Regions from separate parts of the Homo sapiens genome. Here all the other regions are linked to region 1. Evidence: promoter capture Hi-C in 16 types of primary human blood cells and fetal thymus (Javierre and others, 2016). All regions are on one chromosome and are shown on one strand. Each heading gives the region's core, a stretch centred on a gene start or on the middle of the fragment in contact. The rest is flanking DNA. Distances are from core to core; before and after follow the strand shown. Region 1 holds the start of TADA3 (transcriptional adaptor 3). Region 2 holds the start of TATDN2 (TatD DNase domain containing 2). Region 3 overlaps IRAK2 (interleukin 1 receptor associated kinase 2). Region 4 overlaps THUMPD3 (THUMP domain 3 tRNA guanosine methyltransferase). Region 5 overlaps IRAK2 (interleukin 1 receptor associated kinase 2). Region 6 has its middle 9.0 kb from the start of IRAK2. Region 7 overlaps SETD5 (SET domain containing 5).

What was found. Contacts are between HindIII fragments. The CHiCAGO score rates a contact against its expected background, and 5 or more counts as called.
Region 2: a contact is called between a fragment that was not itself captured here and the fragment with the promoter of TADA3 in region 1, in 13 of 17 cell types (monocytes, total CD8 T cells, naive CD8 T cells and 10 more). The highest score is 13.0, in monocytes.
Region 3: a contact is called between a fragment that was not itself captured here and the fragment with the promoter of TADA3 in region 1, in 8 of 17 cell types (activated CD4 T cells, naive CD8 T cells, total CD4 T cells and 5 more). The highest score is 8.4, in activated CD4 T cells.
Region 4: a fragment that was not itself captured here is called in contact with the fragment with the promoter of TADA3 in region 1 in 2 of 17 cell types (neutrophils and total B cells); the score reaches 8.3 in neutrophils.
Region 5: a contact is called between a fragment that was not itself captured here and the fragment with the promoter of TADA3 in region 1, in 4 of 17 cell types (monocytes, naive B cells, activated CD4 T cells and 1 more). The highest score is 7.4, in monocytes.
Region 6: a fragment that was not itself captured here is called in contact with the fragment with the promoter of TADA3 in region 1 in 1 of 17 cell types (monocytes); the score reaches 7.0 in monocytes.
Region 7: a contact is called between a fragment that was not itself captured here and the fragment with the promoter of TADA3 in region 1, in 1 of 17 cell types (neutrophils). The highest score is 5.1, in neutrophils.

The regions. Positions count from the first base shown.
Region 1 is chr3:9,791,033-9,793,946 of GRCh38, forward strand. It overlaps TADA3 (transcriptional adaptor 3), which reads right to left and starts at 1,441. Exons shown (of 9, transcript NM_006354.5): 1 at 1,184-1,441; 2 at 228-461. The coding sequence starts at 434. ARPC4-TTLL3 (ARPC4-TTLL3 readthrough) reads left to right here and starts at 1,516. Exons shown (of 12, transcript NM_001198793.1): 1 at 1,516-2,092. The coding sequence starts at 2,090. It overlaps ARPC4 (actin related protein 2/3 complex subunit 4), which reads left to right and starts at 2,050. Exons shown (of 6, transcript NM_005718.5): 1 at 2,050-2,092. The coding sequence starts at 2,090. It also overlaps a transcript of OGG1 not described here. RefSeq lists enhancers at 1-268, 1,373-1,899, 1,826-1,925, 1,900-2,426, 2,626-2,715 and silencers at 1,256-1,345, 1,406-1,695. The HindIII fragment of the contact is 10,858 bases long and covers 21-2,914 here.
Region 2 is chr3:10,247,465-10,250,378 of GRCh38, forward strand. It overlaps TATDN2 (TatD DNase domain containing 2), which reads left to right and starts at 995. Exons shown (of 8, transcript NM_014760.4): 1 at 995-1,603; 2 at 1,731-2,150. The coding sequence starts at 1,737. RefSeq lists a silencer at 881-1,310 and an enhancer at 1,563-2,431. The HindIII fragment of the contact is 1,674 bases long and covers 714-2,387 here.
Region 3 is chr3:10,202,691-10,205,604 of GRCh38, forward strand. All of the region lies in intron 3 of IRAK2 (interleukin 1 receptor associated kinase 2), which reads left to right. Among named protein-coding and RNA genes, the nearest start is that of IRAK2, 39 kb to the left of the region's middle. The HindIII fragment of the contact is 1,354 bases long and covers 755-2,108 here.
Region 4 is chr3:9,379,998-9,382,911 of GRCh38, forward strand. It overlaps THUMPD3 (THUMP domain 3 tRNA guanosine methyltransferase), which reads left to right. Exons shown (of 10, transcript NM_001114092.2): 7 at 506-621. Among named protein-coding and RNA genes, the nearest start is that of THUMPD3-AS1, 15 kb to the right of the region's middle. The HindIII fragment of the contact is 6,287 bases long and covers 1-2,914 here.
Region 5 is chr3:10,183,821-10,186,734 of GRCh38, forward strand. All of the region lies in intron 2 of IRAK2 (interleukin 1 receptor associated kinase 2), which reads left to right. Among named protein-coding and RNA genes, the nearest start is that of IRAK2, 20 kb to the left of the region's middle. RefSeq lists enhancers at 1,526-2,026, 2,027-2,527. The HindIII fragment of the contact is 2,061 bases long and covers 465-2,525 here.
Region 6 is chr3:10,154,468-10,157,381 of GRCh38, forward strand. No RefSeq gene overlaps it. Among named protein-coding and RNA genes, the nearest start is that of IRAK2, 9.0 kb to the right of the region's middle. The HindIII fragment of the contact is 8,341 bases long and covers 1-2,914 here.
Region 7 is chr3:9,439,936-9,442,849 of GRCh38, forward strand. SETD5 (SET domain containing 5) reads left to right here. Exons shown (of 23, transcript NM_001080517.3): 8 at 521-763; 9 at 1,658-1,806; 10 at 2,193-2,310. Among named protein-coding and RNA genes, the nearest start is that of SETD5, 44 kb to the left of the region's middle. The HindIII fragment of the contact is 1,749 bases long and covers 610-2,358 here.

The sequences.
Region 1 (2,914 bases), core at 191-2,690:
ATGAGTGGGGTGCCAATAAAAGCTTACTGAATTAGAAATCTTGCAATTTAAGAGGATCATGCATATTCTTGTGTATTTTTTGTGTCATGCAAACCCAGTTTGCGTCTCTCTCCCTCTCCCCACAAACCCCTGTACCCCAAGTCTCAGCATATGGGGCTAACTCAATGACCCATCCCATAACTTGTTGCAGTCCATCTCTGGTGCTGGCCCCTCTCTGGGGTTATCACCTGGGTTTCGGCCTCAAGCACACGCAGGCGCCGGCTGGCAGAAGACAGCAGGGTCTCCAGCTCCAGCTGCAGGGTGTCCAGCTCCTCGATGCCGATGCCATCATCCTCAGAGCGTGCCAGCACTGCCGTGTAGCGGGGACAGACCTTCAGGTGATCCACAGACTTGAAGTCGTGGAACTGCAAGGGGCAGTCTTTCAACTCACTCATGGCCCAGGATATGGGGATCCTGTGGAGCTGGAGAGGACAGGGCCATTGATGGGAGACAAAGTGGTCTGAGAAAAGCCCAAGGGCTTCTTACCTCCAGGGACAGCCTCAAGGAAGCCCAGCTTCAGTCCCTTACTGACAAAATTGATGGCACAGTTCCTACTCACAGGGCACTTAACTGGGTACCAAGCTAGGTGCAGAGCACTTTATCAGTTTATCTCACTGAATTTCTCACTCAGCACCATGAACAAGGACCATTGTGATCTCGTTTTTACAGAGAAAGAAACTGAGACTCTGTAAGGGTGGGTATGTGCCTATGCTTCCAAGATGCAATTTGAACCCCGCTAGTCTTGAGTCTGCACCCTGATCACCATGCTATACTGCTATGCCTTGCCTCGCCTTTCTGATGCTCTTTCCTTCCCTTCTATTTCTCTTGGGTTCTGCTAAGACTTTGAGTTCCAAGCACCCCATTCTTACCATGTTCTCTGGGACTCTTGGCCTCTTTTCTTACCCTATTCCACCTTTCTCCCTTCTCTAGTCACTAACAGTGGTTTAGAACGTGGGCTGGTAAGCCAGACAGACCTGGGTTCAAGCCCAGGCTTTACCATTCTCTACTTATATGCCCCTGAACATGTTATTTGACCTTTTTCAGTCTCAGTTTTTCCATCTGTAAAATGGGGACAAAAGAAGTCTCGGTCTGTTTCCCCATTAAAAGTCTGAATCTGAAAAATGGGGATAACAATAGTACCTACCTCCCTGGGATGTTCTGAGGATTAAGAGATGATGCCCGTCAAGAGCCCAGTTCAGTGTCTGGCACAGAAGTGGGACTGTTTAATGGCTGGCCCCGCCCGGGGGTCGCCCAAATGTCCCGCCTTCAGAGTCCTCGTTCTCTAGGGACACCCTAGTGCGACCCCCGCCCCCTCTACCTCCTCGCTGCGGCCTCCTACGGCCCCAGGGGCCGCGGGAGGGGGCGGGGAGTTCCGGTCGATGTGAGCAACCGCCCCGGAACTGGCTATGGGCGGGCCCCTTGCAGTTGACGCGGGGGCGGGGAGTCAGCGAGGGCGAGCCTACTGGAGTTTGCCGGGGGTGGGAAGAAGGTGGGCCTCGAGCAAAGCCGCTAGAGGTGGGGTGCGGGTGGTCGGCCTCAGGCGAGCCCCGGGGCACAGCCCGGGGCGGGAGGCGGAGCTTGGCGGCCGAGATCTCCGCGCTGCAGTTAGCCCCGCCGAGCGCCAGGAGCTGCGGGTAGGAGGGGCGAGAGAAAGGATGGGGGTACAGAACCGGAAGAAACGAAGGGCTCGTCCGCTTCGGCTTGTCCTAATTTGGTGCCCAATCTGAAGCTGGGCTGTACCATTGCATACCTGGGGGAGGCTGTGGCAAAGGTGACAAGAAGGCCGAAGGCACAAAGGGAAGCTGCACCCATTCCTGGAGGAGCTTAAATAGTGACTCGAGTGCAAGAATTTAAAAATACCGAGACAGCCCTAGGTGGAAAACTTCCGGAAGGCCCAAGCGTTCGTAAGGGCTCTCTACCCCGCTCGGAGCATAGATGGTACCGTCCGGAAGTCCGGGCGGAGACCGTAGCTGCGCTTCTCGCGAAAGGGCAGGCATCGCGGGGCTGGCCACTTCCGTACTTCCGCTTTCCGGCCCAGCCAGCGCCCGCGATGGTGAGAGAGCCGGGCCCCCGGCCAGGGACCCCCGGCTGTTCGGCCTCAGGGCAGTGGGTCGGTGGGAGATGTGGCTTTGCCGCAGGGGCGCGGGGCCGAGGGATGTCCGGGGGTTGTGGGGACACGATGAGGGTGGGAAAAAGAGACGGGGCGGGGGCCCGAGGTGAGGAAGGGGCGAGTGGGGGTACTCCCTGGTATGAAGTGGGCCTTGTGGCTTCACGGTCAGCCTTCGAAGCAGGTAGGGGCTTTTCCTGAGCCCTGTAGGAACCCGGAAGTGGGGTCTCCTAGGCTCTTTGGAGCATTTCGAGGGTACGTAGTCGGCCTCTTAGCCTCTGAGGCATGAAGCAAGTCCACCTGCCTATCCACAGTGGAACTTCACGACATACGCCCTTTGTCCTCTTCTGCCTTCCTGACCCTACAGTTGCTTAAGGCAGGCGGCCACACTTCCTTATCCCATTCTTGGTACCTCCAGCCCTGCTTCCACCCCATTGGAGGATCTCTCGTGTTGCTTCCATTCAGGCCCTTCCTGGTCAGAACTGAACTGTGTCAGCCTTAGTGTATGTTAGCTGTGATACTGCTCATCCCTCCCTTCCTGGAAGTCCTCCCTTTTTCATACATGTGGGCCTTTTTCATACATGTGGGCCTTTTTCATACGTGTGGGCATTCCTGGGAGTTGTGACTTTGGATGACCATCTCCCTCTTCGTCACACCTTCCCTGGTGATACCGATCTAGTCTCCTGGCTTCGATAACTTTCTTCATTCTGATGACTCCTAATCTGGCTTCTCAGCTCTCTTTCAAGGTTTGCCTGGATATCTTGAAGA
Region 2 (2,914 bases), core at 301-2,800, 460 kb after region 1:
TAGAGACAGGATTTCACCATGTTGCCCACGCTGGTCTCGAACTCTTTGCCTCAAGAGATCCACCCACCTCGGCCTCCCAAAGTGCTGGGATTACAGACGTGTGCCACTGGACCCAGCCTCCTTTGCCAGTCTTAATACTAAGTTATTTTATTATTTTGGGAGAATTGCTACATCGAATATCAGCCCTTTGTCATATGTTTCGAGTATTTTTCTGAATTTGTACCTTGTCTTTGATTTTTTTTCTTTTTTGAGACAGGGTCTTGCTCTGTCCTCCAGGCTGGAGTGCAGTGGCGGGATCACAGCTCACTGCAGCCTCGACCTCCCGGCCTCAAGTGATCCTCCCACCTCAGCCTGAGTAGCTGGCATCACGCCCAGCTAATTTTATTTTTTGTAGAGATGGGGGTCGCACCATGCTGGCCAGGCTGGTCTCTAACTCCCGAGCTCAAGCCATCCTCCCGCCTCGGTCTTCCAAAGTGCTGAGATTGCAGGCGTGAGACACCGTGCCCAGCCGTCTTTAATATTTTTCACCAGGCGGATAGTTCACATTTTTGTGTAGTCTTTTTTTTTTTTTTTTTGGTGCCTTCTAATTCTAATTCTTCCCATTTCTGGGTGTGTACTTAGTCTCTCTGAGCCACAGTTTTCTGCTCTATAAAGTGGGGTGATAATGCTCAGTACACGGTTTGCTTTGGCTCGATGAGAAATCCAGGTCTGAAAGCTTCAGGTACAGCGGCCGGCGCTGAGGAAAACAGCGTTAAGTGAGGCGCGTCAGCGGACACCACCTGCCTGCACATCTGGCTGGCCTCAACTTCCCGCTGTTCGAGCCCACGTGAGTGGCTCCGCCCCATCTGGCTTCTGACCAATGGACGAGCTTCCTAAGGCGTACCGTCCCGACTCCAAGGCGCCTGGCTTTGAGGCGGGCTGCGTCTTGCTCGGAGTCCCGCCCCTTGCCGGGTCGAGCAATGGGCGCCTTCCGTTTGGCGCAGGCCCCGCCCCTGTCGCTCTCCGGCCTGCGGGCCGCAGGGCTCGTTCCGGAGGGCGGGCGCCACGGAGGCCGGAGTGGTCGCAGTTCGGGCGGAGGCCGGGCCAGGCGGGGCTGTAGGGCTGGGGCAGGCGGCGGGCTGCCCGGCGGGACAGCTGCGGCAGCCGGCGGGGGGCGTCCTGAGTTGGCGGTCGAGGGCGCTGCCAGCTCCCGAGGGGCCGCTCGGGCCCCTTCCGGCCCGGGTCTGGTTGGGCCGCAGGAGCAGGGCGGGCTGCGGCGCCCGGGTCTGGCCCTGGCCTACGGGCTAAGCGCCCGGCCCCGGGGCCGCGGATCCGGCAGCCATGTGTGGATCTTGAAGCGCCATGTGGTCTTCTGAAGCGCTTGACAGTTCTAAAGGGCTTTATATTGCAAACTGATCAAAGCGCTTCGTAGCCCCGGAAGCGCTTAGGCATCTCCGAAGTAGCGCTGGGCAAAGTGAAGGCTTCCTGATCTCAGAAGCACGTTGTGGGCTTGGAAACCGACGGCAGCCTTTAGTCAATTTTGGATCGCTTTGACTTCTCCAACACGGTTTGGCATCTCTGAAACCTTGAGAACTGTGATGGGCAGTGGAAAGAAGAGGGAAAGGTCAGTGAGGCTAGCCCCTGGCTCTGCCCTTATGTCTTGCCGTCCTCCTGGGCCCGGGGTGGCGGGAATCTGAGGTGGGGTCGCCAGGAAGGGTGGTGTTGGAATCCAGGCCCCCTGTACCTTGCAGGTGCCCATGGCGTCCGAGCGGGGCAAGGTCAAGCACAACTGGAGCAGCACGTCGGAAGGGTGTCCCCGCAAGCGCAGCTGCCTCCGGGAGCCCTGTGATGTGGCCCCCTCCAGCCGGCCAGCTCAGAGGTCTGCGTCGCGTTCTGGAGGGCCCAGCAGCCCCAAGCGCCTGAAAGCCCAGAAGGAGGACGATGTGGCTTGCTCGCGGAGGTTATCCTGGGGCTCATCCCGCCGCAGAAATAACTCCTCCTCCTCCTTCTCCCCACATTTCTTGGGCCCTGGTGTGGGCGGGGCCGCCTCCAAAGGCTGCCTGATTCGGAACACTCGGGGGTTCCTGTCTTCAGGGGGATCCCCTCTGCGTCCTGCCAACGCCTCTTTGGAAGAAATGGCTTCTCTAGAGGAGGAAGCCTGCAGCCTTAAGGTAGGTGGCTGCCACGCTTTGCAATCGGTGAAGCCCCTTCCACATGGCTTGAGAGGTTGGGGATGGGAATTTTGGTGGAAGGAGACTACAAAACATTACATCCTTGAAGGTCTGGAAGGTCTTTCTAGAAGTCCACTCCCCCCAAACTCGAAGACCTAGCAGTCTTCCAGGCGCGTGGCCTGAAGTTAAGTAGAGAGGTAATTTTCAAACTCGGCAGCACTTTGGAACTACTTGGAAAGCTTTAAAATACTTGGGCCTGCCTCCTACTCCAGAGAAACTGATTTATTGGGCTGAGGTGTGGTCTGGGCTTCCAGATTTTTCAGTGCTCCCCAGGTTATTGTAAACGTGCAGCCCCGTTGGAGAATCACTGCAGTAGAAGGTGGATTATGTGCTCAAGAGAAGAATGTATTTATTTTAGTTGTCAGTTTAAAGAATTGTGTGCCCTTGTACTTTGAACCACTCTGAATCACAGAACCAAGAATTGCGGTTCTTGGTGTAGCTTTTCTCCAAAGTCATAGTTTCCAGCATGTTGGGGTTTTGCTTGGTGGTGCTAGTTTTTTTTTTTTTTCTTTTTTTTTTGGAGGTTAAATTGTTAATTCCCTAATGGAAACATGCAAGAGGGTTTCATAAGTACTTTGAGCAGACCAAGGAGTGCTTCACAGAGAAGATACATTTCGCTCATCTACTCAATCAAGGCTTTGAACAAATATGTGTTGAGGGTTTAGTTTGTGCCAGGCAATGTTCTAGGTGTTTGGGATTCTTTA
Region 3 (2,914 bases), core at 182-2,681, 410 kb after region 1:
TTTTTTTTTTTTTTTTTTTTGAGATAGGCCTTGCTCTGTTGCCCAGGCTAGGTGACGGTGGCACGGTCATAGCTCACTGCAGCCTCAACTTCCCTGGCTGAAGCAATCCTCCCACTTCAGCCTCTCAAGTAGCTGGGACTACAGGTGTACATCACTACGGCCGGCTAATTTTTTATTTTTGTAAAGATGGGATCTCATTATGTTGCCCAGGCTGGTCTCGAACTCCTGGGATCAAGCGATTCTCCCACCTTGGCCTCCCAAAGTGTTGGGATTACAGGCATGAGCCACTGCACAGAGCCCTATTTACTTACTTTCTTTTTTTGGCAGTGGGATGGAATCTCTGTCACCCAGGCTAGAGTGCAGTGGCACAATCTCGGCTCATTGCAACCTTTGCCTCCCGGGTTCAAGCGATCCTGCTGCCTCAGCCTCCTGAGTAGCTGGGACTATAGGCACGCACCACCACGTCTGACTGATTTTTGTATTTTTTGTAAAGATGGGGTTTCGCTGTGTTGCACAGGCTGGTCTTGAACTCCTGGGCTCAAGCAATCCACCTGCCTTGGCCTCCCAAAGTGCTGGGATTACAGGCGTGAGCCACTGCACCCAGCCCCTATTTGCTTTCTTGATGGCACTTGGAGCAAATGTGCCCAGGCAGGTCAAGATGATAACTACAATTTGCAGGCAGAGACAGGAAGTTGATTGTCTATCTTTGCCTAAATTGAAAATAAGAAATCATTCATTTCATCAAACCACCCAAAGCTTGTCTTCTTTCGGGAAAACCCCAAGGTTCCACTGAGCCCCAGAGTTCAAACTCATCAATTATCTTAAAGGATTTTGGTAGGAGTGAAGTATACTGAGCCCACATCTTGATCCCTGTGATACCCTGGCTCCCCCTTGCAGTAGGTGGGAAGGAAGTGGGAAGAGACATGGAGGAGGAAAATATGTTTGTTTGTTTTGTTTTTTGAGACAGAGTCTCGCTCTATCACTAGGCTGGAGTGCAGTGGCGCGATCTCGGCTCACTGCAGCCTCTGCCTCCTGGGTTCAAGTGATCCTCCTGCCTCAGCCTCCCGAGTAGCTGGCACTACAGGTGCGCGCCACCACGCCCAGCTAATTTTTTGTATTTTTAGTAGAGACGGGGTTTCACCATGTTGACCAGGATGGTCTTGATCTCTTGACCACCTGCCTCGGCCTCTCAAAGTGCTGGGATTACAGGCATGAGCCACCGCGCCTGGCTGAGGAGGAAAATATGTGAGCAGAGGAGCCATGGATAGGCTATGAGCACCTCGGCAAAGCAGTCTCGAAGCTAGAATTCAGATGAAAGGGTTTTGAGCAGCTGAAATAACTGTTACAAAGCCTTAGCTGTAGGAGAGGCCACTGGGCTATCAGTCAGAATCTGTTTACTTACTCTACACATAGTTTCACCAGCCTTGGTAAAATACCAAGTACTGCATGTGTCACAGCCTGACCTTTGTGCTCTATAAACATCAGCTCTTTTTACCTGGACAAGAAACAGACCATTATTGCTCTTTTTACATTTGAGAAAGCTCAGATAAGTGAGGCACAGCTCATCTGAGGTCAGATCTTGAGTAGTGCTGGAGCCAGCGCTTGAGCCAAATTCTGTTTGATACTAATAAAGGAGATGGGGCAGCTGGGGGTAGACCCGCTGCCAGCATCAGGGCAGGACATAGAAGACCCCATGTCAGATACAGTGCCGCTGCTTCTGCAATTCTTGTACCTGCAATGACACAGCTCGGCAGGACCAGAGGTGGTGCATTTTGCTTGAGAAAGCAGGCATATTAGCCTCAGTAGAATAGCAACAAAAAGGCCAAGGCAGTCGGATCACCTCAGGTCAGGAGTTCGAGACCAGCCTGGTCAACATGGTGAAACCTCATCTCTACTAAAAATATAAAAATTAGCTAGGCATGGTCTCAGGCGCCTGTAATCCCAGCTACTTGGGAGGCTGAGGCAGGAGAATTGCTTGAACCTGGGAGGCGGAGGTTGCAGTGAGCCGAGATCACGCCACTGCACTCCAGCTTGGGTGACAGAGAAAGACTCTGTTTCAAAAACAAAAACAAACAAAACAGAGCAAAAAAGAAAAGCAAGAAAAAGAAAGCTTCTGGAAGCATTTCCATAGGAAATGGTTTGTTTTTTAGCTAAGTCCTGGCACTTGATCTGACCTCTGATTAGCTGTGCCTCACTCTTGGAAACAAGATTATGTAGAAGCCCCAAGCCCCATCTATCACTATCACCCAACAAGTATCCCATCTTGTTCATCTACTCTCCTGCCCCATCTCCCTCCCCTCCCTTAGCCATTATTTTAAAACATTTTTATATGAAAAAATTACAAACATACAAAAGCCAAGAGCATAATGACCCTCCATGTCCCCATCAGCTGGCTTCAGTAATGATCCACCCATGGCCAACTTCTGATTAGTTTGTATGGAATCCAGGGAGATTTTCATATCCTTGATAGCTGGAGAATTCCTTCTCATTCTCCTCTCTCTGCCCTTGGACATACAGTGGGGGCCTTTAAAGATTATGGTTGTGAGTTTCTCCTACCACAGATAACTACCCTAGGCACGAGGAGCCAATCCGATTAGACCCCAGAGGAGGGGAGGGCTGGGTAGGGAGAGATGGAGAGTAATGGCTGGTGGGTCCTGTCTGATTTTCCAGACCAGAGTCCATTTCTTTTCCCCAAGACCACAGGGATAAATAAACCCAACTAATAGCCCTCATGTGTCGCAGGAGCAGGCCTCAGGGATTCCCCCAAACTGAGAGGCCTGGGGGAGCCTCCTGAGCAAACCCCAGGCATTAAGTCAGATAGGAAACTCATGACTTGTGTGAGGCAAGCTCTGACCTCAGATTTACTGGGCACAGAAGGACCCTGTGTGCAGAGACAGCCCTGCCCTGTGGCCAG
Region 4 (2,914 bases), core at 234-2,733, 410 kb before region 1:
CATTTTATTTTGCAATTTTCAAATATATCAGATTATGTAAACTCCCACAACCACAAATCTCAAATATTTTCAAACCGCATTAACTTAGAATTTAGTGTGCCAGACACTGCTGGATGAGGAACTGAATAAAATACTAGACCTGACCTCAGAGAGCTCCCAGGTTAGTTGAGAGGCATAAAGGGGAAGAAATAATTAACCGTGGGACAAGTGCAGTGGCAGAGGTACGTACATACAAAGTGTTTTTGGGAGGGGCACATAAGACTGCTTGGAGAGTTAAGGTTGATGTTGAAAGGGCATGAGGTTTGAGCTGGGTCTTAAGAGATGGGTAGAGGTTCAGCAAGCAGAGAAAGAATAAGAGGGCATTTTCAGCCAGGGAAATAGCACAGTTGACAACATGCAATGTTTTGCCACTCTAGAAAAGCACTGGATTTTCTTTGTTTGTTGACAATTTAATCATATTTTACAGTTTGCTACTTTTGTTTTAACATACACTCTTATCTTTTAGGGGGCCACTGAATGGTCTGACTGTTTCCATATTGCTGGTGATAATAATCCACTGGCTGTGAATAGAGCAGCAAATAACATTGCATCTTTATTGACCAAGAGCCAAATTAAAGAAGGGTAAAAATTTAAAAGATTTCTTAGCATCTTTTAGAGTTAGAGAATCACTTTTTATATTGACTTTATGAATTAAAACTCCCAGTGCATTGTGACGTCATTGTAACCAAAATGAATATACTATGAGACTCCATTTACATTTTTAAAGTTTATTGAAAATAAGTTATATTTTTAAAATATTATTTTAGCGATAATTTCCCCACCATATGCAATTTTTCATTTGTCTTATTCATATGTCTTTTCCCCTACATATTGGAAGAATATTTTATAGACTCATTTTAATTTCACAAAATTTTAAACAGTATATTTTTACATAGGCTTCTTTTTTGCTTTGGGTACAGGGTCTCATTTTGTCACCCAGGCTGGAGTGCAGTGACATGATCATGGCTCACTGTAGCCTCAACCTACTGAGCTCAAGCAATCCTCCTGCCTTGGCCTCCCTAGTAGCTAGGAATACAGGCATGTGCCACCATGCCCAGCTAATTTTTTAAAATCTTCGTAGAGATGGGGGTCTTGCTGTTTTGTCCAGGCTGGTGTCAAACTCCTGGCCTCAAGAGATTCTGCCGCTTCAGCCTTCCAAATTGCTGGGATTAGAGACGAGTCACCACACCTGGACCATAGTCTTTAAAGTCACTACATAAATTCCATCGTATAGAAATACTGCAGTTTATATAGCCTCGCCTCTATTTTATTACTAAGTCATTGGTTATATATTTCATTGTCTCTCTGATCTAATTTTTTAGGACAGTGCTTCTCAAACATTAATGTACATGTGAATCACCTAGGAGTACTGTTAACACAGATCTGATTTAGTAGTTTGGGATGGGACCTAAGAGTCTGCATTTTCCAGGAAACTCCAGGACAATGCTGATGCTGCTGGTCTATGTATCAACATTAAATCCTTTTACGTGTATTAAGACAAGTAGTTGGAAGGCTTCAATTTTCTTAAATACTGATTTATTGTGATGAATTAATTTTGAATGGTTGTTTCATATTTATTGAGGGTTTTTTTTAATGAGCCTAGTATATGGCCAGTCTTTTTTTTTTTTAATTAAAACTGATAAACATTTAAACAAACGTACCTTTCTAGCTTCTGAATATTTTATCTTGTTTGTACCTACACTGTCTGTTCAACCCGTACTTTTTTTTTTTTTTTTTTTTTTTTTTTTTTTTTTTTTTTTTGAGACGGAGTCTCACTCTGTCGCCCAGGCTGGAGTGCAGTGGCTTGATCTCGGCTCACTGCAAGCTCCGCCTCCCGGGTTCACGCCATTCTCCTGCCTCAGCCTCCCAAGTAGCTGGGACTACAGGCACCCGCCACCATGCCCGGCTTATTTTTTTTTTGTATTTTTAGTAGAGACGGGTTTTCACCATGTTAGCCAGGATGGTCTCAATCTCCTGACCTCATGATCTGCCCACCTTGGCCTCCCAAAGTGCTGGGATTACAGGCATGAGCCACTGTGCCCGGCCTCAACCTGTACATTTCTATCCATTTTACTTTGGTTTTTAATATTTTTTGCCTTTTGTTTTGTGCAGTTATTGGTATGCGGTTATAATACATATTTTATGTGTACTTTTAAAAATTATGTAATGATTGCTTTTATTGCATTTTTTTCTTAAATTCTTCATTAAATGTCAATTAAATCCTTAATTTCTGCTGATAACCTTTGACTTATCTTCAGTTCTTAGCCTGTGCATTATTTTGTTTCTTAAACCAGTTGCTTTGCCTTAATGAGGAGGATTTAAATCCTTTGTATTTATTATTATTCATTCTGTCTTCTGTCATCTATATTTTTTATCTTAACTTTTTTCTTAGTCTTGTTTTATATAGCATGGCACATATTTTCCTTTTGGTTTTTCATCTTGAAACAATTACCTATATATTTGCCAATTTTACTATCTGTTTTTCTTTTAGGCCTCCTGTTATTACTAGTTTTACAAACTTTATTCTTCAGATACATCACCCCATTATCTATTCTTTAGTATTGTTTTTCTCCAGTGTATGTTTTATCAGCAACTTAAATTTTTGTATCATCGGTTATGTAATTTACTGCTTCAGCATTGTTTTTAAAGTTGTCTTTTGCAGTTCTCTGCATTACAATCATGTTTTCAGTTTGTTTCCCTTTTTTCTGAGACGGGGGTCTTGCTCTGTCACCCAGGCTGGAGTAAAGCGGCACAATCCTAGCTCACTGCATCTTTCAACTCCTGGACTCAAGTGATCCTCCCACCTCAGCCTCCTGAGTAGCTGGGACTATAGGTGTGTGCCATCATGCCCTGCTAACTTCTTAAAAAAGTATTT
Region 5 (2,914 bases), core at 245-2,744, 390 kb after region 1:
TGGCCAGAGTCAGCCCCTTTTTCCTCTTTTAGCCATCCATGTCTTGGGCTCCTCTATTAGCCTTCCAGGTTCACTACTGTAAAACAAGCGCAGACCACAGTGGCTGAGAAAAGACAGGCGTTCGTTTCCCTCTCCTGTGACTGCCAGGCTGCCCCGGGCTCAAGTGGCAGCTCCGTGGTTTTGTGGCCCAGGCTCTTTCTTCTTTACTGTTCTGCCAGTGTGGACACAAGACTTCTCACATCTGAGATGGCCCCTCTGTGCCCCTACATGCACATCGCAGACAGCAAGAAGGGAAAAAGAGGAAAAAGGTGGGTACACTCCACTTCTTTTAAGGACATGACCAGGAAGTTGCTCACCTACTTTCCCTCATAAGCTATTGGCCAAACCTGGTCACAGAACCACACCTGCTTGCAAGGGAGGCTGGGAAATGTAATCTTTGGTTGCAAGGTTTTATGTGCAACTAAAGCTTCTAGTACTCTAGAAAAGGAGGCAATCAGTATTGGAGGGACCATTAGCAGTTTCTGCCACGGTCCATTTTGGCCACCCAGATATCTGTATACACCTGTCTTGACCTGCATAAAACATCTGCTTTCCACAAGGGAGATAGGCCTGGGGGCCTAATCAGTCACTTCCTTTAGGGCAAATCTGGTATGTGTGGGTGATGTGTAGCCTTCTCTAATGGCCCCAGTGACCCAGGGCCTCTCAACCAAAGAGAAGCTGTCTGCATCCCCTTCCCCCAGCACACCCAAATTCCATGGTGGAATTTGAACAGGAAGCCACAATAAAAAACTCCTACTTGAGATGAGAAACACGAGGTAGTTACTTGTCTATAGCAGTCAACAAATCTGGCAGAGGAGCAATTGTAAAACTCCCTTCCCTGTTTTTTTGTGGAGTTTTTGTGTGTTTTTTTTTTTTTTTTTTTTTTTTGAGACGGAGCCTTGCTCTGTCGCCCAGGCTGGAGTGCAGTGGCGCGATCTCGGCTCACTGCAAGCTCCGCCTCCCAGGTTCACGCCATTCTCTTGCCTCAGCCTCCCGAGTAGCTGGGACTACAGGCGCCCGCCACCATGCCCGGCTATTTTTTTATTTTTTTTTATTTTTAGTAGAGACGGGGTTTCACCGTGTTAGCCAGGGTGATCTCCTGACCTCGTGATCCGCCCGCCTTGGCCTCCCAAAGTGCTGGGATTACAGGCGTGAGCCCCTGCGCCGGGCCAAAACTCCATTCCCAGGTAAAGGAGTAAGTTCTTTGCTTGGCCCATCTGGCAGCCCTTGGTTCTCAGTGATCTGTGATTCGCGAAGCATCCTAAGCATCAGTATCACCTGGGAACTTGTTAGAAACGCAAATTATTGGGCCCCACCTCATCTGCTGATTCGGAAACTCTAGTGGTGAGGCCCAGCAGTCTGGCTTAAGTTCCCCAGATGATTCTGATGCACCTTGAAGTTTAAGAACCACTGCTCGGCCCGGCGCGGTGGCTCATGCATGTAATCCCAGCACTTTGGGAGGCCCAGGCAGGCGGATCACCTGAGGTCGGGAGTTCGGGACCAGCCTGACCAACATGGAGAAACCCTGTCTCTACTAAAAACACAAAATTAGCCGGGCGTGGTGGTGCATGCCTGTAATCCCAGCTACTCAGGAAGGCTGAGGCAGGCGAATCGCTTGAACCTGGGAAGCAGAGATTGTGGTGAGCCAAGATCGCACCATTGTACTCCAGCCTGGGCAACAAGAGTGAAACTCCGTCTCAAAAAAAAAAAAAAAAAAAAAGAACCACTGCTCTGGCTGGGCGCGGTGGCTCACACCTGTAATCCCAACACTTTGTGAGGCTGAGGTGGGTGGATCACTTGAGGTCAGGAGTTCAAGACCAGCCTGGCCAACATGGTGAAACATCGTCTCTACTAAAAATACAAAAATTAGGCCAGGCGTGGTGGCTCAGGCCTGTGATCTCAGCTACTTGGGAGGCTGACGCAGGAGAATTGCTTGAACCTGGGAGGTGGAGGTTTGCAGTGAGCTGAGATTGTGCCACTGCACTCCATCCTGGGCGACAGACTACACTCCGTCTCAAAAATAAATAAAAATGGAAATACAAAAATTAGCCAGAGGTGGCGGTGGGCACGTGTAATCCCAGCTACTCGGGAGGCTGAGGCAAGAGAATCTCTTGAACCAGGAGGCAGAGATTGTTGGGAGGCAGAGATTGCAATGAGCCAAGATTGTGCCACTGCACTTCAGCCTGGGTGACAGAGCAAGACTCCGTCTCAACAACAACAACAACAACAACAAAACACTGCTCTGATACCTGGTCCTCCGTGATTTCTGGGAAGTGGAGCTTCCACGTTCATTATTCTCTGTGGCCTTATCTGAAACGGAACTGGAAAGAATGTGCTTTTATTTAGGGCTCCTTGGCTTTCACAAACCACCTCCTGCTGGTGTGGGTTTGGGGACTTGAGTGGAGCTGTAGGAGTCAAATAATCTCCAGCTTTTATCAGATTCAGCTGTGGTTTCTTTGGCAACACAGTTCTGTCAAAAAACTAGAAGCTTCTGCTCTCTTGGCTTCTAATCAGTTCTGCTGTGGTAATCACAGCCGAAGATCCAGCCTAGACACATCTTAATTCTCAGCCCTGAAGTGTTTGGTCTGTTATTTCCTGGCTTCTGCGCTTAGCCTCGCCTCCTCACCCCCCAATTTAATGTGCTTACCTGGAGCTTCCCTTGAAGCCACCTGAAACAGTAAGTTGGATGGGAAGGCAGGACTCTTAATTTGACTTTTGCCTTTGAGCTCTCTGTATTTGGCAGAGAACCTCTTCTGAGGGTCAGTAGTAGAACTCAGAAAGGTGGAGCAGAGATTAGATTATTAGAAAGGTTAGTACCACAGTCTTCCCTGCTGCTGAGGCAGACTCTTGAGATCCCCCAAGATGGGGATTCTTG
Region 6 (2,914 bases), core at 110-2,609, 360 kb after region 1:
ACGCTCTGCTAGTCATTGGCTTCCTGATACCCCTTCAATACAGACTGAGTATCCCTAATCCAAAAATTCCAAATCCAAAGCACTCCAAAATCCAAGAGTCCCAACGTGACGCCACAAGTGGAAAGTTCCACATGTGAGTACTTAACACAAACTTGTTTCACGTGCAAAACTGTGGAAAATATTGCTTACAATTACCTTCAGCCTTTGTCTGTAAGGTGTTTATGAAACTGGTGTTATGATGTATATGTTTTCTTTTTTTGTTCCTGGCTCATAACTCCCATAGCCCTTGTTACGGATGTGAGCCACCTTGCCTGGCTAATTTTTAAGTTTTTTGTAGAGATGGGGTCTCGCTGTGTTGCCCAGGCTGGTTTTAACTCCTGGGCTCAAGCGATCCTCCCACCTTGGCCTCCCAAAGCCCTGGGATTACAGGTGAGATTACAACCCTCATTTCAGAGAAGGTCCTACCCCATACCCTGGGGGAAGGAATGGTGACATCATAAAGCCTCGTTAAAACCCATGAGGACAGTGGAGAGTGTCAGGATAGCTGAACTACGTGTAGAGGTTCCTGGAGGGTGGTGCGCCCAGGGAGGGGACAGAAGCTCTGCGCCCCTTATCCCATACCTTGGTGTACGCATCTCTTCATCTGTATCCTTCGTAATATCCTTTATGATAAACCAGGTAGGCCGGGCGTGGTGGCTCACACATATAATCCCAGCACTTTGGGAGGCTGAGGTAGGAGGATTGCTTCAGCCTGGGAGTTCAAGATAACATCATAGTGAGATCCTGTCTCTCCTAGAAAAAAAAAGAACAACCAGGAGTGGTGGCGCATGCTTGCAGTCCCAGCTGTTCAGTTTGCACTCCAGCCTGGGAGACAGAGCAAGACCTGCTGTCTCAAAAAAAAAAGACTGGTAAACATTTTTCACTGAGTTCTGTTAGCCACTCCAGCAAATTAAACCCAAAGCGAAGGTGGTGGGAACCCCAACTTGAAGCTGGTTGGTCAGAAGTTCTGGAGCCCTAAACTTGCTACTGGTGTGTGGGTGGGGGCAGTCTTGGGGACTGAGGCCTCAACCTGCAGGATCTGATATTATTTCCAGAAAGATGGTGTTGGAAGTGAATTAGAGGATACCTAATTGGTGTTCACTGCAGAATTGATTGCTTGCTCGCTCTCGGGAAGAAATCTACACATTTGGACACGAAAGTGTTCTGGGTTGGTATTGTGTTAGTGTGGAATCTAGAGGAAAAACAGTTTTTCTGAAACAGAAAGGTAAATGAATTTCGCCTTTAGACTTGGGTCCCATCCTCAAGATACCTCATATATATGCACATATTCCAAAATACAAAAAAATCTGAAATTGGAAACACCTCTGGTCCCAAGCATTTCCAATGAGGGACATTCAACTTGTTCCCCTTTCTTTCGGCACACCTAAACTGCCTGCCCCAACAAAACATTTTCTTGTCCCCACCCCTTACCACACATACCCAGTAGTCCATTGGCAGGTCACAGAAAATTGAGGTACACGTATTATGGTCATGAGAAGGATTGGGCAGTAGCACTCAATGTATGAGAGGGAGAAAAACCCACAAAACTTATTTCAAAATTCAAAACATGAAACCGCAGGAAAATATAAGTCTGTTTGACATACAAACTAATGGCAGTAATCTCTCTCCCTGTCTGTCAGAAGGAAAAACACGAAAGATTGTTTCGTTCCAATTGGGAAAAGTTGAATCCTGGGGGCCTGGAGCTGGCCCCACAGATGCTGATAACAGAGCTGAGGTTACTGAAAGGCTTGGGGGAAGTCCTGTTGAACCATTTCATCTTAACATAAGTTGGAGGAGACTTAATTGGGCAAAGGACAGTTTAGCAATTTGCTTGATGGGGAGTGACATGAGTTGATGGATCTTCCCTTGTAGGAGGGTGTTCATTACCTAGGCCCAACCCAAGAATTTTGAGAACTCTTGTTGTAGCTATTCCATGCTCAGAAACCTCTGATAGGAACTGTGGTAAGGGCTCGTATTAGTCTGTTCTCATGCTGTTATGAAGGAATACCCAAGACTGTGTAATTAATAAAGAAAAGAGGTTTAATTGACACAGTTGCTCACAGCTGGGGAGGCCTCAGGAAACTTAACAATCATGGTGGAAGGCACCTCTTCACAGGGCAGCAGGAGAGAGAATGAATGCCAGCAGGGGAAATGGCAGATGCTTATAAAACCATTAGATCTCATGAAAACTCTGTCACCATTGGCCAGACGTGGTGGCTCACGCCTGTAGTCCCAGCACTTTGGGAGGCCGAGGTGGGTGGATCACAAGGTCAGGAGTTCACGACCAGCCTGGCCAAGGTGGTGAAACCCTGTCTCTACTAAAAATACAAAAATTAGCCAGGCGTGGTGGCGGGTGCCTGTAATCCCAGCTACTCGGGAGACTGAGGCAGAGAATTATTTGAACCTGGGAGGCGGAGCTTGCAGTGAGCCAAGGTTGTGCCACTGCACTCCAGCCTGGGCGATAGAGTAAGACTCCGTCTCAAAAAAAAAAAAAAAAAAGAAAACTCTGTCACCATCATGAGAACAGCCTGGGGAAAATTACCTCCCATGATTTGATTAAACCCTCCCATGATATATGGGGATTACAATTCAAGATGAGATCTGGGGGGGACACAGCCAAACCGTATCAGGGCTGTTCCAGCAGGTCTGGATTACCCTGGCGTGGAGCAACTCCAAGCAGTAGGGAGGATTTTGAGAAGGTCTAGTGTGCCTCTGGGGCAGCTGTTTTCCAAATACTCGTTTATACTTGGCAGCCTCCAGGATTTCCACCCCCCTGATAGATGCAGAAAGCAGATCCCTCTGGAACAGACTCCAGTATTGGAAATAAATGTACATGTATGGGAGATTGCCCAAATTAAGTATGGCACTCCTAAAT
Region 7 (2,914 bases), core at 234-2,733, 350 kb before region 1:
TTAGAATGAACATGTATTATGAAAATAATAAGTGATACAAAAACATGCATTCTCCTGGAGAATAGTCAAAAAACCAGTTTGGGCTAACACTTAACACAGATATTCAGTGAGTATGAAAAATTTAAGCAGTGATAAATTTGAGGTCTCTACTGTTCATTTGTATGAAGATTTTCTTATGAACTTGATGTCAGTCCTTTGATTAGAAAATTGATTTTTATGACTTTAAAATGGTCATAAAATCACAGTGATGGGATGAAACTATGATCCAGATTAATTTCTTACTTTATAAATGGAGAAACTGAGCTTCCCCATTTAAAGAAGTTATTCAAGGTCTCACCTCTCATTGGTAACAAAAGCATGATAGAAACCAGATCCTCTGACTCCCAGTCCATTACTCTTTTATGCCACATCAATTGCCAAGTGATAAATTTTCTCTGGAACCCCAGCTTGTCCCACCCCCATTCCCAACCCTCTATTTATGCATGGACTTTACTAACCTCCCTGAATTTGTTTTCTACAGAATTCTCCCTCTGAAGCACAGAATTTAGATGAGAATACAACTGAGGGCTGGGAAAATCGGATAAGACTATGGACTGACCAGTATGAAGAAGCTTTCACTAATCAGTACAGTGCAGATGTACAGAACGCGCTTGAACAACACCTACATTCTAGCAAGGAATTTGTGGGCAAACCTACTATTTTAGACACTATTAATAAGACTGAATTGGCCTGTAATAACACAGTTATTGGTTCCCAAATGCAGGTAAGCACCAAAGGGTTGAGGACTCTCTAAGTAGCTGAAATTTTAAGAACCCAGGAAGAGGGTAATGGATTGGAATTACTGTTCCTTCCAAATGTACAAGGCCATGGAATAACAGATTAGCCAGGTGTTGATCATATGTAACCAAAAGTAGGTTATATTAACTGGAAACTACCTGGATACATATTTTTAAACTACCTTTATTAATAAAAAAATAGATGAATTGAGGCTGTGTGCAGTGCAGTGGCTCACTCCTATAATACAACACTTTGGCAAGAAGCCAAGGTGGAAGGATTGCTTGAGGCCAGCAGTTCAAGACCAGCCTGTACAACATAGTGAGACCCTCTCTTTACAAAAAAAAAAAATTAAAAGCCGTTGTGATGATACACACCTGTAAGTCCCAGCTACTGGGGAGGCTGAGGTGGAAGGATCACTTGAATGAATTTGAGGTTATAGTAAGCTATGATTGCACCACTGCACTCCAGCCTGAATGAAAGAGTGAGACCCTGGCTCTATTTAAAAAACAGAGAGAGAGATGACTTAGTATGGGAAATTCTATATACCCTAGGTAGGAATTATGTAATATTTATAGAAAGTTAAGCATGTTCTTTCTCATCTTTATTTTAGAGATAGAGTCACTGAAGTCTTAATCATGTATTTTTTTTTTTTTTTTAATATTTTCTTGCCGTTTCTGGGGAGGCAATTTCACTAGATGTAGCATGTCTCTTAGAAAAATTGAGCTTTCATCACATTTTAAAATTTCTCATCATTGATCTAAATAACATGTACAGATAAAACCTGAAAATATTAGCATGTTTTCCTTAATTATGAAGTAATTTGAGTGTCTACTAAGGTGTTCTTGCTGTTGTTTAATGTTATTGCTCTGGTTTTATTCAGTTACAGCTGGGAAGAGTCACTCGTGTTCAAAAGCACCGGAAGATCCTGAGGGCTGCAAGAGATTTGGCTTTGGACACTCTTATAATAGAGTATCGTGGGAAAGTCATGTTACGACAGCAATTTGAGGTCAATGGGCATTTCTTCAAAAAGTAAGAACGTCATTCATTGAGCAGTGAGGGCTAAGGTGGACCTGGTTGACCAGTGTTGTTGTAAAAATCATTCTGTTTGATAAGACGCTCTTGGGAGAAAAAAATCACAACTCAGATAAGCTCACACCTGTCTGCTATTTGTAGAGAAGTGCAAGTAAATCTTCAAATTGTTCAATGTATAAAATGGTGACACCTCCTTTCCAAGCCAAGCATTCCTTGCTTTGTGCTTGTTCTTTAATCAAAAGCAGACAAACGTGATGCTTTCCCAAGTTTAGGCGTTGCAAAAGACTGCTGCTGCTTCTCTCAGCATATGCTTCATATTTGGAGTCATGGGGTGGCCTTCTTATTTGTGTTGAGAATTACAGGAATTTTAATTGTATCCCTAGACCATACCCCTTTGTGCTCTTCTACTCAAAATTCAATGGTGTAGAGATGTGTGTGGATGCCCGTACTTTCGGTAATGATGCTCGGTTCATCAGAAGATCATGTACACCAAATGCAGAGGTAAGATATCTGTAGCAACTTCCCTTTGACTGGAACCATCAAATGACAAGCTTACTGAAGAAGCAGTGTGAAAACTTCACTCAGATAAAGGTCTGTAGATAATAGTCGTGATATTTCATCGTGGGAGGTGAAAAACAAAAGTAATGGTGCTTTTATACGACAAAATGGGCGCAAGGAAAGAGTTTTCTTTAGAGAAGGCAGAAATAGAAAAGAGCAAGTTAGCATTTGCTAAGGAGAAAAAGCTAGACTGGATAAGAAAATCAAGTGTAGTTATATTAAAGAGATTGCCATACGGTGGAAGTAGATGTTGTTAGGCCTAACTAAGCTATTTGGTTGCAGTTTTTTTAGATTTTAGTGAGTAATGTTTTATGAGAGGATCTAGACATTTCTAGAATTCATTACTCAGAGCAACCACATCAAATAAAGCAAGAAAATCCACAGAGCTTTACTTACTGGCTAAGGAATTTTAATTCTCTGGTGGAGCTGGAAACAGCTATAAGATGTGAAAGCGGCTGGGCGCAGTGGCTCATGCCTGTAATCCCAGCACTTCGGAAGGCTGAGGTGGGCAGATAACAAGGTCAGGAGTTCGAGACCAGCCTGGCCA